2 separate regions of the Homo sapiens genome follow, and region 2 is linked to region 1. Evidence: promoter capture Hi-C in 16 types of primary human blood cells and fetal thymus (Javierre and others, 2016). All regions are on one chromosome and are shown on one strand. The core of a region is centred on a gene start or on the middle of the fragment in contact, and the rest is flanking DNA. Distances in the headings are between cores, read along the strand shown. Region 1 holds the start of QTMAN-AS1 (QTMAN antisense RNA 1). Region 2 holds the start of QTMAN (queuosine-tRNA mannosyltransferase).

Region 1 (6,805 bases), core at 1,492-3,991:
GAGCTCATCTTCACTTCCTCCTTCTTGAAAAAGAGACCCCATGGTGTGACACTCTAAAACCACCTCTGGATTTAAAACTATGGCTGCCTGGAATTGAAGGCCCAGTTGCTGAGATTCCCTGATTTGCAAAGCAAGGGAGAGTTCCTAACTGAATAACTTGAGTTTGTAACTAAAAACAAAAACAAAAACCTGCTCATCTATTGCAAGTAAGTATACTCCCTTTGTTACATGGTATGCAATTAGATGCCTTTGAAATAAAAGGTAAGTTAAATCAGAAGTCTCGGGGACAAGAAAATACTATTTTAAAACAGGGAGTGTCAGATGTTTTTCAATTCAGTACCAAAGGGTATTTCACAGGTAATTTCTCAGGGCTGATGTTAGCTAATTATTAGCTACCATATCCTGCCTGCCATTCTTAGTGACTATCTCCTGGCAGAAAGACACAGCTAGGAGTGTTTTGTTTCATTTGTCCTTGGAGTTTTTATCAGCATCAAGAAGGTGGACTGAGCCAAAGTTAGAAGAATTCTGGAGCTAAGCAAAAAGCGACACGTTTAACAGCCCCCATTAATTGGGGCTGTTACATGATTAATTTGAGAAAAACAGAAGAGACCGATTTCTTTACAACTCACAGTTGGATGCAACGCACTAAAAGTAATCCTGTAAATTACATTTTAAATCTCCAACATATTCCGAGCAGATAAAATAGTGGCATGATTGACCAAACTCCTTTTAAAAGTACACATATTACGATGCATCATAGTTATAAACAGATGGTATTTGGCCTCCTTCCTATTCTCAACATTTGGAATTTCTAAACTATGTGAATTAAACAATAATATTTTATAAACATACAAGGGATTTTGCTCACTGCTTTGTTAACATAGAAATTATACAATGCTGACATTTATTTAAATTTTAAAAAGTAAACAACAGTGTGCATCGAAATAAAGCAAACTAAAATCAACATAGAGAAGTATGTTCTGTGTGCGTACTACCTACAATGGCACTGGCCTTTTAAAGGGAAGACATAATGGGTTGAAGAACAAATTGTAGCATAGATCGGCCTAATCCCTTGTACTCCAAGGCTCATTTAACACCTCTCTGTAAACAACGGATATTTATACCATAATTGGCTATTTGACCATCAGTGTTCATTTACTATGTAACCTGCTATTATGGAGTTAAAAGAAGCTCCCCTTCATTGGCTCGTCAGCTTTCAGAGTAGCGAAAGTGTCCTCGCAGTTTTAAAAACACTTACACAAACGGGAATCAGTCTGACACTTGTACTCAGAATGAGAAACATTATCATGATATCAATAAGTATATATTTATTCTTTGGGGGATATTATTGCCAGAAAGAAAAGGAAATATATTAGATCTGAGTGTCATTTCCTAAGATTCTTTTCTAAAATTATAGCTTTAACCCTTTAGCCGCAGTTTGGAAGGGAGACCCATCTGCTGATTTGATGTACTAAATAGAAGGCACTTGGTTTCCAAACACTATTCTCAGATTCGCAAAGTTGCGCTGTGATGAATAAATAATGAATCAGATATTTCAATCCGTTTTATGATTTTTGAAAGCCCTGATTATCATTGTTTACAGTCTCTTCTTAATGCACTTCCCATGCGTTCTTGTTCAGCCTTCCAAGAGTTGGTTTATGTAGGCCACCCTCTCCCAACCTCGCTTTACTTTTGGACTGCTCTCACGTGTTAACCCACCCGCTCACACCTTTAAACCAGTTTGGGGAATATTTCAAATCTGAGGGGGGAAATCTTGAGCGACAGATGACAAGGAGTATTCGCAAACACTCCAGGCTAATGTTGCTTGTATTTGGTCACAGGTGTGCCCTGCTTTTGCGTACTATAATATCTCTATTGGTGAGAAAGAGGGAGAAAATTATGCTAAAACCACATGGATAGAAAGGAAAACGGCACTGCTGAAATCAGGAAGGATCAGCATTCCTTTTCTCCTATACATACGTGTGTATACTCAGATAAATAATGATAAATCACGGCAGTGTGAGGGAGGCTTTTAACAAAATACAAGCTTCAAAATAGGAATATCTTCACAAGTTTTCAAAAAGCTAATCAGAGCAAATGAGTGACAAATCAATGTAATGCTTCTAAATATTCTCCTGCCCCAATATTGCTTAACTCCTCTTCTCCACTCCTCCTAAATAACCAGTTGGTGGTGAGGAGGAGAAATGAGGTTTGTATTTCAATATACAGGTGTGAAGTGAAAAAGAAAGCGTCCGGGGGGTGAGATTTAAATCACATATCCGAACATACCAGAGACAGGAGTTATTCTAAACTGTGTAGATAAAATCCCTTTCGGAGAGTCCCCGTGCCCATCCCCACTCCCCTTCGCGGGATTGCTGAGGGCAAGTTATGTTTTTTGAAAAGGTAGTAGGCATCGGTGTTTCTGGTTTTGCTTAGTGCGTCTTCATCGTATTCCCTCGCTGAGGACTGAGCCTGGCCGACTCAGGGAACCGAGTTCAATGAAATCCTCAGACGCATAAAGCACAGGGTGCCGGCCCACCGAGCTGCGCTCCCTTCCCGGGGGTGCCCGAGAGAGAGCACGCGAGCCCGGCGCAGCCAAACCCGGGCAGGGGTGGGTCCCCACCGCGTGTGCGTGTGCCAGCCTGGGAGTGTCGGCGCGAGCGTGGCGGGTGCGTGCCGGTGTGTGTGCGTGACAGCGCGCGCGTGGCAGGGAGTTCGCGCGCCAGGGTGCGCGTGCCAGCGCGGGTGTGCGAGGGAGTGCGCGCGGGTGGGAGCGCCAGGGGCTGGCGGGGCCCGCGCCCTGGGACGAGCCCCTCGTGCTCCGGCTCTGCGCTCCCGCAGCGCCCACGCAGCCGAGAGGAGTGGGTGATGACTTCGTGACCTCAACGTCCTCCCCCGTCCCTCGACATGTTCCCGCGCCTGAAAGGTGCAGAAAACTCCCCCCACCGCTCTGGACGAGACTGAGCTAGGCGTCGAGGGCGGGCGCCGCCGCAGACCGGAGCTCGGGCTCGCTGGCCGCTCAGGCGCAGCGGTGTGGAGGGAACGGACGCGCGGCAAGGCGACCCGCTCTGGGCAACGCGGGCGCAGCTGCCCCGACGCAAGGCACTAGCTGGTCGGGGGCTCGGGCGAGCCGGGGCCGGCGTGCCGGGGCGTGCGCTCTCTCGGCAGGCGAGCGCCGGGCTCCGCGGAGGTCCCTGCGCCCACTGCCTGCTTCTCCGCCCGGCGACCCGGAGTCCCCAGGCTGCGGTGCGCCAGGCCAGACCTGACCGAGGGCGGAAGACCCGAGCGGCAGGGAGGCAGAAAGAAAAGAGGTAGCAAGCCCCAGACAAGGGATCCTTAATTACAGATAAAAGGCAAACAAAACCGTACACCACATTTTCCACGTGTCAGCTGACGGCCGCGACAAAAGGAAACAGAACGCTGGGGGGTGGGGGGGAGGCCCCTTCTTAGCTGCCCCCCACCCCTTGACAATGTGTGCAAATGTAAAATGCATTAGGTAGTAACTCTGGATAGGTGGTGCCCGGGGCCAAATTGCAGCTGCACGCTCCATCGTGTAGGACAGTTTGCTGATGCACCCAGAGGTCTGGGGAACCTCTTACAAAAAAGGGACTACAAATACTCCGCTTGAGCACATTTTGCTTCTTAAAACTTCATTACTCATACATTTTAAGTTAAAAATTTTGTGCTTAAAGTGTTGCAATTATCTTCAGTAAAATTCTAATACACACACACATACACACAATTTTGTTTTGCAGTTTTGTAGATTCCATTTTATTGGCCTGGTATCACAGCATTAGAAATACAAGGGGAAAAGCCAAGACGATGAAAGCCAGGGAACATAGCTGCAAGCACCAGAGAGCACAAGTTCCCCTCCATGGCTCTGCGGCTCAAATGGAAAAAGGAGAGATGTCTGCTTTGATTTCTTTCCTTTTAATTAATCAGGATCACAAAGCAATCTCCACCCTGTCCCTGGGATTTAAGATACTGGTTAAACTCCACCGTGTCCCGAATTCTCCACAGAAGGTGGAGGAGTGTTCAGAATCTGAAGTCCACCCGCGGACCATTAAAAACCTCTAGGTCTGTGCCCTCATTTTTAACACTCAAATTAAAGGATCACCCTGAGCCACCACGCAGTGCACTCTTCTCTATTTTCTCCCTCTTGTTGCTGGGCCGGTTTTGGAAATTAGAAGGGGTGGTCTCTTTGTTAGCAATCTGTTTACTTTCTTCTGATACAATGAAGCATCAGGTCGAAGGTGACAAGGCTTCTTTGCTTAGTCATTTTTACCCATCTCTTTGTAGATGATGTTTTTTTCCATTTTCAATTTTTTTTTTCATCAATGCCATCTCCCCAACAGCATTTCAAAAATAAAATTTCCAAGTCCTTTTTTTAAATGTGGTTCCAGTCAAATGATTTACCCACACCCCAAATAATATTATTTACATCCAGTATTAATAGCTGCATATCAGTAATTCTTAGAGATCTTCTGATCCATATTTAACAATTTAAATGATGGCTAACATTATTGCCAGGCAAATGCCTGAACCAATAGTTTGTGGACTAGTTGCCAGCCAGATGACAGCCAGGTATACACAGGGTAAGAACATAATTAAGTTTCTGCCCTAGTCTCTTCAATTGCAGAAGGCAGACAACACTCTTTCTCACCTTCCAGGGAAGTAGATTAGCAGATTAACAAAATGATGTAAATCACATAAGCTTTACATCCCCCTTCCCCTTCTAATACCTATTTAGGAACACTTTAAAATTTTTCCTTTAGGCATCTAGTCTTTCTGTGGTTTAGCCACATGCTCTCCCCTTTTTGGCTTTCTCCTTCTGTAAAATAAGTAAGGTGAAAGAGCAGATTAGGAGTTTTTCTTTTTCTTACAGCTTTCCTGTGTTTGAGTGGATCATCCTGTTGCCATCGTTTTAGTCCAGTTGTTGTTAATTCATGTTCTTACCACCCACCAAAGAATAGCACAGGATTAAGTTTATATTAATAAATGATGTTCATGAGTAGGTTTTTAAATGCCAGAGTTATGATTTATTTTTTTAAATGGGTGGAGAAAGGAGAGCGGCAATAACTAGCTCCCAAGTCATTCAAAATCCTGGCATCACACATCTATGTGGGTTTTTCTTTCTTTGTTTTGGTCTTTAAGTTTTTTGGACACACCTCTTATTTCCCTTTTAGTCCTATATCATGGAATAAATGCTTTTTTTGACTATCTTTGTCCATAGCTTGAAACCCTGTTTATTACAGTTAAATTTATAGAAAGTATTATATGGTCCTCTTTTCTTCTTCTTAAGAGCTTATAATTGTCCCTGTTTATCTCCCCACCCATTAAGAATTCTGTAATAAATCCCTGCACCAAATAAATTAAAATCTGCAACTTCAGACACCCGAGGAAGAGGACATTAATCCACTTAGTAAAATACTCAAGACCTCCCCCTCTCAATTTCAGCTCTTCTTAATGTAACATTCAGTAATTACAGCTGGCTCCTTATACTTCCCTCCCTCCCTTTTATTCTGAATTATATTGGCCTTGCTTAACCTTCATTTCCTTTTCTACCCCCCACATTTGTCCACATACTTTTCTTTGACCATGTTTGTCTCTTTCTCTTTCTTTCTGCTGTGTGGATTGAGGGCAACAAATGAAGCTTTCCAAGAGCTTAATACTTGCCCGTAAAATCCCATCCTACCTCCCCATTCCACTATTAACGTTTTGTACAATTTTTATGCATCCTTCAGTTGTGTAGTTACTGCTCTATATTTTTCTGATTGATCATTAAGTTATGCTGGCTTTTCAGAACTGTCTCCATAATCCTGAAGCAAAGCCTTTTTACTTGGCATGCTCTCTGCCTTTGGAATGCCTTTCCTGGCAAGGACAGACGCTTTGGTTTGACTACGATTCTTAAGTTACAATTCAAAGCTAATTTGTTCAGTTAGGTTTCTACTATGAGCAGCTCTGTTTCTCACCGTTAAGTGCTCCATGATGCTGCTTAGTTGAAGGGTGTGTTGTAAGTGCAAGATGTAATATACTTATATTGTACTTGATTATCAGTTTTCAAAAACAGCTGCATGCTTTGATATCTGTGTAAGGAAATATCGAAAGATAATATACCATTGGTATTTATTACTCTATAATTAAGGATGTGTCAGTGTTTCCCTTCCAAAAAAGCCCCTTATTTTCAGAAATTCATATCTCAGGCATAAATTTCCCTATGAATTACAGTCTAATACCATATTAGAAGTTTCTCCTTTTTAAGTTATCCCTCCCCTTCCTTTTCTTTCTGAGGAAGTAAGTCTCAGGATGTAATTTCTGGGTTATTGCTTTGGGATGAGGGGGAGCAGGCCCAGTGATGCACAGTTCAAGGTGCTGCCACATTGCCACCTGCTCCCTCTGCTCTTCTGCCCTGTGTGGGGAGACACTGGGGGCTGCCTTTCTGATGAAGGGTCAGCTTTATACACACATGGGTGAGCAGCTTTGCCACTGTATGATTCGAAAGGCAATAGAGAAGAGTCAGTTGTCCAGAAATATCACAAGTGCCACAGAGTCTGAACTTTTAGTACAGAAATCAATTCTTCCGCATTCCTCTCCTTATGGTCATTGAGAATACAAGCACTGGCTGGTGTAACATGAAATACACCTAGAGTAAGGTATTAGCAACTTATTAACACGTTTCTTCTTACAGTGAGAGGCAGAAGGAAGAAAGAGGAGAAAGAGAAGACAAATGTTTTTCCCTTCTTGAAGAGGTGGTCTTGACTACTGCTCAACCACAGCCTACTGAAAGAGCCCTGGAAAATCTGAG
Region 2 (7,843 bases), core at 2,016-4,515, 390 kb after region 1:
AAAAATTACCACCCCCTCGCCTCTACACATATACACACACTCCACTACCATTAAAAGTATAAGATTTTGGCCTTCATGAGAAACTTAATTCAAAAGTCCTCTTTAAAAAATTAGCACAAGAAATTTTACAAAAACAGTTGCAGTCATTGCATTTTTAATACGGAGTGTTTGCATTACTTGTTACAGACATGGTAATTTGGGTGTTCAATACATGACTACTGTTCTGAAACCAAATTAAAGGTTTAGACTACTAAAGAGTTTGATGACTTGCCTCAAAACAATAACTGGGATTGTATAGAGAACAAAATCAGAGGTCTGTCTTCTTTATGAGCAGGCATTTAAAGGCCTTTTAATGAGAATTTACTCTTTAGTATACAATTACTAATGAACAAAAATAGGGCCATTAAACTCACTTCTTCATAATAAAACTAATTGTAAGAAATATATACATATTAATCAAATTCATGAAAAACTGAAATCTCCAATGCCTTACAAGGCAACATAGTGAAAATTATATAACTTTTCTTCTTAATTAAATGTCCTGTCAGGTGACTGATGCCATTTTTTACATGGATATGCCTACAATTTAAAATACACAGACTCAGCCAGGAACGGTGGCTCACGCCTGTAATCCCAGCACTTTGGGAGGGTGAGGCGGGCGGATCATGAGGTCAGTAGATTGAGACCATCCTGGCTAACACGGTGAAACCCCGTCTCTACTAAAACTACAAAAAATAAGCCGGGCATGGTGGTGGGTGCCTGTAGTCCCAGCTACTCGGGAGGCTGAGGCAGGAGAATGGCGTGAACCCGGGAGGTGGAGCTTGCAGTGAGCCGAGATTGCGCCACTGCACTCCAGCCTGGGCAACAGAGTGAGACTCCATCTCAAAAAAAAAAAAAAAAAAAAACACAGACTCTCCAGTACTAACGATGGCAATGAAACGTCTAAGCTTCTTGAATTAATTTTAAACTTCTATATGAACACTGGCTTCCCACACTGATAACAGAACTTATTGTTGGGAGAAATTTATATCTAATCTATATGTATCACCTGCTATATGTACTGAGTGCTAAGGACACCTCCAGGGAACTGGACAGATTCAGTTCCAACCCTGGGGTACACATGATCTAGATGTAAAGACAGATAATGACCTTGCTTGAGGAATGTGTAATAGATACCTGTGATGTTATTTTATATATACCACACAGAGAGAGAGCAAGATGAGAGAGAGAGGAAGATTCCATGCATGGTTCCTGGCTCATAACTACCACAGCCCTTGATCCAGTCTTTTGCTACGACGTGGGTGTGTTAGGCCTCAGGGAAAGCCTCTGACCTTCTCCTGCCCCAAGACAGACACGCCCTGCCCCCAACCCACAGAGGATCCCATTCTATACCCTGGAGGAAGGAATGCTGTCATAAAGTTTTCACAAAAACCCAAAAGAACTGAGTTCAGAGAGCTTCCAGGTAACTGAACACATGGAGGTTCCTGGAGAGAGATGCACTCAGAGATCACATGGAAGGTCTGCACCCCTTCCCCCATACCCCACCCCACACGTCTCTTCATCTGTTTGCCTTTGCAATATCCATTATAATAAACAAGTAAATGTGTTTCCCTGAGTTCTGTCACTCCAGCAAATTAATAGAACCTAAACACGGGGTGGTGAGAACCCCAATACCTGAACAAATGAAAGCTCAAAACTAAGAGAAGAAAAAGGCAGAAAATTAAACACTTGAAAAATAACGAGCTACCATTGAACTGCATAAAAATCACCGATTTATGGGAGACATCCTTAAGTGTCTCCACTAAGAAAGCAAAGAATCCAACAGCTGGCTAGTCAGGAAAGGCGTTCTAACTCATGACTGGATGAATCCAGGGTGTCCTAGAGTCCCTCATGCAAATGAAAAGCTGACCCTCAAAAAAGTTCAAATTATAGCAGCCATGGAGCCTAGATCTCAGTATCTAAAGGGTCAATCTGGTGATGTGAGTCCAGAAAACAGTATCACAGGATCTTGGCTCTGCAAGACCCCAACCACCTACCTATGGATAAGAATAGGTCCCAGCCCCCTAAAGGTAGGGGAGATAGCAAGGAGAGGGAGATCAAGCTGTTAGGATGCCTAAACATGCTTAAGACAAGGTTCCAGTTCCACAAAGGACCTGGAATACAAAAATAAACCACCCAAGAAACATAAATTCTATGGACTATTTATAAGTTACTAAGAAAAGACTGTGGAATTGCTTCTCTGGTTATTTATTTATTTATTTATTTTGGAGATGGAGTCCCACTCTGTCACCCAGGCCGGCGTGCAGTGGTGCCATCTCGGCTCACTGCAACCTCCACCGCCCAGGTTCAAGCCATTCTCCTGCCTCAGCCTCCGAGTAGCTGGGAATGCAGGCACGTGCCACCATGCCCGGTTAATTTTTGTATTTTTAGTAGAGATGGGGTTTCACCATGTTGGCCATGTTGGTCTCGAACTCCTTACCTCAGGTGATCCACCAGTCTTGGCCTCCCAAAGTGCTGAGATTACAAGCATGAGCCACCACATCTGGCTCTGGTTATTTTTTAAACACTCAAAAAAAATTATCGTCTGTTTAAATGACTTGTGTGATCCTACACAGCATAGGGGAAAAGCACTAGATATTCTTACTAATTGTCTGATTCTATATCCTAACTCCATCTATAACTATTTTGAAATATTCTAGATGCCTCACACACACTTAGTTAAGGTGTTTGTCATTATTTCAAAACTCCTTATGAGAAAAGTGCTTTAAAAATGAAAATCTTGCAGGCAAACTGAGTACATCCAAAGGATATAGTGAGACAGCATACCTTTGTGAGCAATGGATGCTCAGGGCACCAGAATAATTCCAGATCCTTCCCGTTGTAGGTGACAGAGGTCTTAAAATATCTTCGGTCTGAATAGAAGAAACTGATCTGGCAGTGAGTAGGCCAGGCAGACTAGGACTGACATCAGAACCAGCAATTACAGATGTGAGCTGATTTGCTTCCTATAAATTAAACACCATCCTACTCTACCGTACAACTGCTTTCAGTAATATTAGTAGAAAGAAAAAAAAAGAAAGTAGTTCAAAGACGTCCCTATGAAAGCTATTACCTCTATGACTCTACATGTTCAACTAGGAATCAGCCTATGGAATTGGCTCTGCATCTGCTCAGCCCAAATTTTACTCCGGAGATTCAAAGAATGGAGTGTTGGTTTGTACTTCCAAGAGAAATACTTGAAAATTTTCCTCAGTTTTTTTTTAAAAAATAACCAGGCAGGGCACAGAGGCTCACGTTTATAATCCCAACACTTTGGGAAGCCAAGGCGGGCGATCGAGACCAGCTTGGCCAACATGGTGAAACCCCATCAGTACTAAAAACACAAAAAATATTACCTAGGCATGGTGGCGCATTCCTGTAATCCCAGCTACTCAGGAGGCTGAGGCAGGAAACCACTTGAACCAGAGAGGCGGAGGCTGCAGTGAGCTGCTATCACACCATTGCAATCCAGCCCGGGTGACAGAGTGTGACTCTGCCTCAAAAAAAAATAAAAATAAAAAACATGCTATTATTCTGATATTAAAAAAAAAAGAAGAGGTAAGAATATAAGTAAAAGAATACACAGTGTTCTTCATGTAATACCAACAAGAAGCATAACATATCAAATACAACCTAAAACTATTTAAAATATCATTTGGGACAATTTGCCAAGGTAGTCCAAACTCTGAAGTAAAGTTACGTTCCTTATAAAGGTCTATATGCTGAAAAACATATCCTTATAAAATAAAACCAAAATTGTAAAACGTGGCCTATGGTAACAGTCAGAGGGTCACTCAATTCAGGTTGTCACACTTTGCTCTCATGGAAACATTGTATTATTTTAGCTCACCTAAGGTGTTCTATTACTAAAATAATGTTCTTTCCCAATATCAGAGTGACTAACATAAGTTACAGAACAAAATTAGCAGTGTGAAGTTTCTTCTCCCAATTTTTCTAAAGTATCTGACACCTGCTACCTCTTTCAATATTGGAATTCAACCTAACAGCGTACCTGGTTCAACACAAAAAAGGAACTGAGTTAGTTCAAGTTTACTATATCATGATTCAGGACTTCCAGGCACTCTGCTACCTTCAAAAATTAGATTAAGCCCAACAAGATCATAAGCATTTAAAGAGTACCCACTACACATGATAACAGGTATACACAGATGAGTAGGACATAGCCGAACTTTCACGAAGCGCCTACCAGGAAAGTGCGCACAGGCCAACAAGTATTTACTAAATGTCTACACTAAACACTGTACTCTGGGATGTAAAAAATTCATCGCACCACAGCAAGAACTTCAGGACTCATGCACTTGAGGTCCACTTTGAAATGCGAGATTGGGCGTGCTGGAATTAGATTATTACATGTGATAGGATTTCCCTTCCTAAGTGATAGTCATGCATCACATGACATTTCAGTCAACAAAACATCGAATATACAACTGTGGTCCCATAAGATTATAATACCGTATTTTTACTGTACCCTTTCTAAGTTTAGGTGTGTTTAGGCACAGTATTCAGTACGGTAACATGCTGAACAGGGATGTAGCCCAGGACTAATAAGCTATATACCATATAGCCTAGGTGTGAAGTAGGCTATACCATGTAGGTTTGTGTGAGTACATTCTATGATGCTCCCACAAGTACACATTTCTCAGAACATACCTGTCATTAAATGACACATGACTAAACCACGGTTTATATACACCATAACTCTAAGACTCTTAAAATACCAATCTGCTGGAAGTGACGTAGGCTATCCGAATCAAAAATATGAATCGATTCTTGAAGCGCAAGATAATTGCTAATTCAAAAACACTGGAAAGTAATGTTTAAACTCACAGAATGTAAATACTTCCTAACTATGTACAATTCATGGCATTTTAATCTAATGGGTCCAAATCATAAATTAAGGAAAAAAATTTCATTTAATTACTTGGCTTTTTAAGATACCATAATCAAACAAACTTTAGTACCATAATCAAACAAACTTTAGTACAAGAGGTCTGAATTACCTAGTTAAGTGTTTAGTTAATGAAGACTACTAGTTCTATTCAGCTCCTGCTAAATCTCATCAAGAAACTGTCTTCGATTCTTAATTTCTCTATAAAATAATGGGATTGGATTATACTGTTAATGTTCCTTAAACATCGAAAATTCTGTATTTCTGTGATGCATAAGATTAAAATGCCAACACAATTTTCAAATCAAGACTAAAGAAGCCATCTTAACCTTTGCAAACTGGTGATGTTAAAAAATTTACTATTTCCTACCTTATTGCAAGTATCATGCTTCAGATTTTACCTATTCATTGTTTTCAAGCATGTCAAAGAAAGTTTCGTGATTCAAGAGGTACTCCTCTAATCCTCAATACTAAAACTGTTTCATTAAATACAGTACAGGACCCTAAGGAAAATGTATACCAAAAGGGAGTGGGAGCCGAGAAGAATCTAATCCAAGTCAGACCTGGAACGCACTAATTAAAATTCAATATTTCACTTGGTATGTGGGTTCCTACATGAAACTCCTGTCATGGTTAAAGCTTAAGGTTAAACACGTTAATAGAAGCCAATAGAATGGCTCTATTGAATTGTACTGAACTTCTTTTTCAGCAGCTCCTTTACCTAACCACTATTTTAAGCTTTAAAATCAACTTCAGGGGTAGGCACCAAATAACCAAGTGAGCCACGGCAGCCGGGGCTGCAAACTGAAATCCATCTCGTATGGAAAATCATCATCAACTCACGTTTTCCATTTCAAACTGCGATACAGGTGGAAGAAAAGCTGTAAAAGCCTTCTCTTTGAAACTCCCATCACACGGCCTCAAGGCATTAACTTAAGAATCTCAAGATAACCTAAAGCAGCACAGTTGTCAGAAGACTCTAAAAGTTGTATGTGCGAGAGAAGGCAAAAAAACTACTTCGGGACTAAAGGTTAAATTTCGCTGCTGCATTCCCAAGACTTAAATTCAGAGAATCTTTCCACCTGGACAGAATGGGATTGTCTGGATCCCGATGAAAATGGGAAGTTATGTGCTTAATCCTCAGACGAGGGATTCCGGGGTGGGGGGCACAGTGAGGGTCTTCACACTCGGCTGGCAGAGAGGAGTGGGGCGCTGGGGAGGTCTGGTAACTGAGGGCGACTAGGAGCCAGAAGCGAAGCTTTCCGTCAGGAAGGCCTGGGGCTCGCACTGCAAGGGGCCAAGCGCCGGGCAGCCTGGTGGTCGGCGAAGCACCCCAGCCAACTCAGGCCAACCCGGACGCCCGGCCTCCCTTCTCCCGCGCGAGGGCGACGTGCCCCCACCCGTCCTCTCAGCCTGCGCGAGGAAGAAGCGGAGCGCCGGGCCGCAGAAAACCAGCACGCACGACATGTAGGCACCAAAAAAACGCAATTCGAACACGACCAGTTTGCAGAAGGCACAAAATGCCACGGCGTGACGCCCCATTCCGAGCGCGGTGCGGACGGCGGCGCAGGGAGCGCAGCGCGTGCGCCCGGGAAGCGCGCGGCTCTCAGCTCCGCCTCCCCCACACCCCCCGCCCCCGGCTCCCCGCGCCGCAGCCGCCGCTGCTGCCCCTCTGGGATCTCCGCGCAGCGCGGCCCCGCGAGGCGGGCGCCGGGGAGGGGAGGGGAGGGGCCGCGCTCCCCGCCTCCCCGCTGGCCCGCGCGGCTCCCCAGCCCGGAGCCTACTCACCTCCTCCTCCTCCTCCTCCTTGTCTCTCCCTCCTGGCCACCGGCGCGGCCCAGCCGGCGACGCGCTGACGCCGTGCCCCTCCCCCGCGGCCGCCGCGGATGCCGCCGCCCCTCCCGGCCCGCGGCCGCCTCGGCCTCCGGGCGCGTCAGGCGCTGGTCCCGCCCCTCGGCCCGCCCGCGCAATCGAGGCTCCGCCTCTCTGCGCCGCCCGGACTCCGCTGGCGCGAGGTCCCTGAGTCAGCGGCGCTCCCGCCCGCGCGAATCGCTCCGCCCCAGCCCGCGGGCTCGGCTCCTCGCACCTGCCCACTGTCCCCCGGCCTCGCACTGCTCCCCACCTCCCTGTGCGCCCTTTCCCATCTCGTCAGCACCCTGTCCGCCCTTTCAGCTTTTTCGTACTCTTTCCCCAACCTCCTAGTCCTGTTCTAAGCTCGCATAGTCACCTTCTCTTTCCTTCTGGAAGGTCTGTGCTGTTCATTAGGTCGACCTCGGATTCCCCGTGCAGTTTTCCAGCCGGCCCGTTGCATCTCCTTTCCTGGTCCACTCCCCGGCCTACTAGAGCCTCAGGGCCCCTGTGCGGGTTCCTGGCTCCCTTGCCGACACCTCTACCTGCTCTGCAGCCCGGAGCTCCTCCACAGCTGCTTTGCCAATGCCTCTTAATATCCCTCCTTCTGGACCTCCTCGATTCCCTCCTGGCAAGGCTCATGCTTTCCTTTATCTCCATTTTTCCCGTCCTTTCGGTTCTGACTACTCCACACACTTCTGATGCAGTTTGAGTATTCAATAATTGCATATTCGCGGTCCCATTTACACGAGGAGAGTCACATTGAGTAATTAAAAATCACAAAGCAAAGCGACAGCAGTGGAGACCATCATTTGACTTGCATAGTTCCATCTATATTTTCCTTATGCAATAATATTCTCATTGCCACTTGAATTTCAAGGAATGGGATTTTCTGTTGGGGCTTAAAATTCACAAATGTTGGATGTTTTTTCGCTGCGACCTAATTTCACTTTAGCTCTTTTATTTATAGAATACATAGTAGAAAGAGTACCAGGAAGTCCCAGGTGTTCTTGACTGTAAAGTGAGGAATGTGTCCCTTCGTTAAAT

The links. Contacts are between HindIII fragments. The CHiCAGO score rates a contact against its expected background, and 5 or more counts as called.
Region 2: a contact is called between a fragment that was not itself captured here and the fragment with the promoter of QTMAN-AS1 in region 1, in 3 of 17 cell types (megakaryocytes, M0 macrophages and M2 macrophages). The highest score is 5.5, in megakaryocytes.

The regions. Positions count from the first base shown.
Region 1 is chr2:143,934,326-143,941,130 of GRCh38, forward strand. It overlaps QTMAN-AS1 (QTMAN antisense RNA 1), which reads left to right and starts at 2,742. Exons shown (of 3, transcript NR_110237.1): 1 at 2,742-3,311; 2 at 6,689-6,805. QTMAN (queuosine-tRNA mannosyltransferase) reads right to left here. Exons shown (of 12, transcript NM_001376312.2): 12 at 3,743-6,805. RefSeq lists an enhancer at 2,166-2,849 and a silencer at 3,044-3,243. The HindIII fragment of the contact is 2,667 bases long and covers 2,046-4,712 here.
Region 2 is chr2:144,325,703-144,333,545 of GRCh38, forward strand. QTMAN (queuosine-tRNA mannosyltransferase) reads right to left here and starts at 6,810. Exons shown (of 12, transcript NM_001376312.2): 1 at 6,737-6,810. RefSeq lists a silencer at 6,485-7,084 and an enhancer at 6,866-7,443. The HindIII fragment of the contact is 4,640 bases long and covers 946-5,585 here.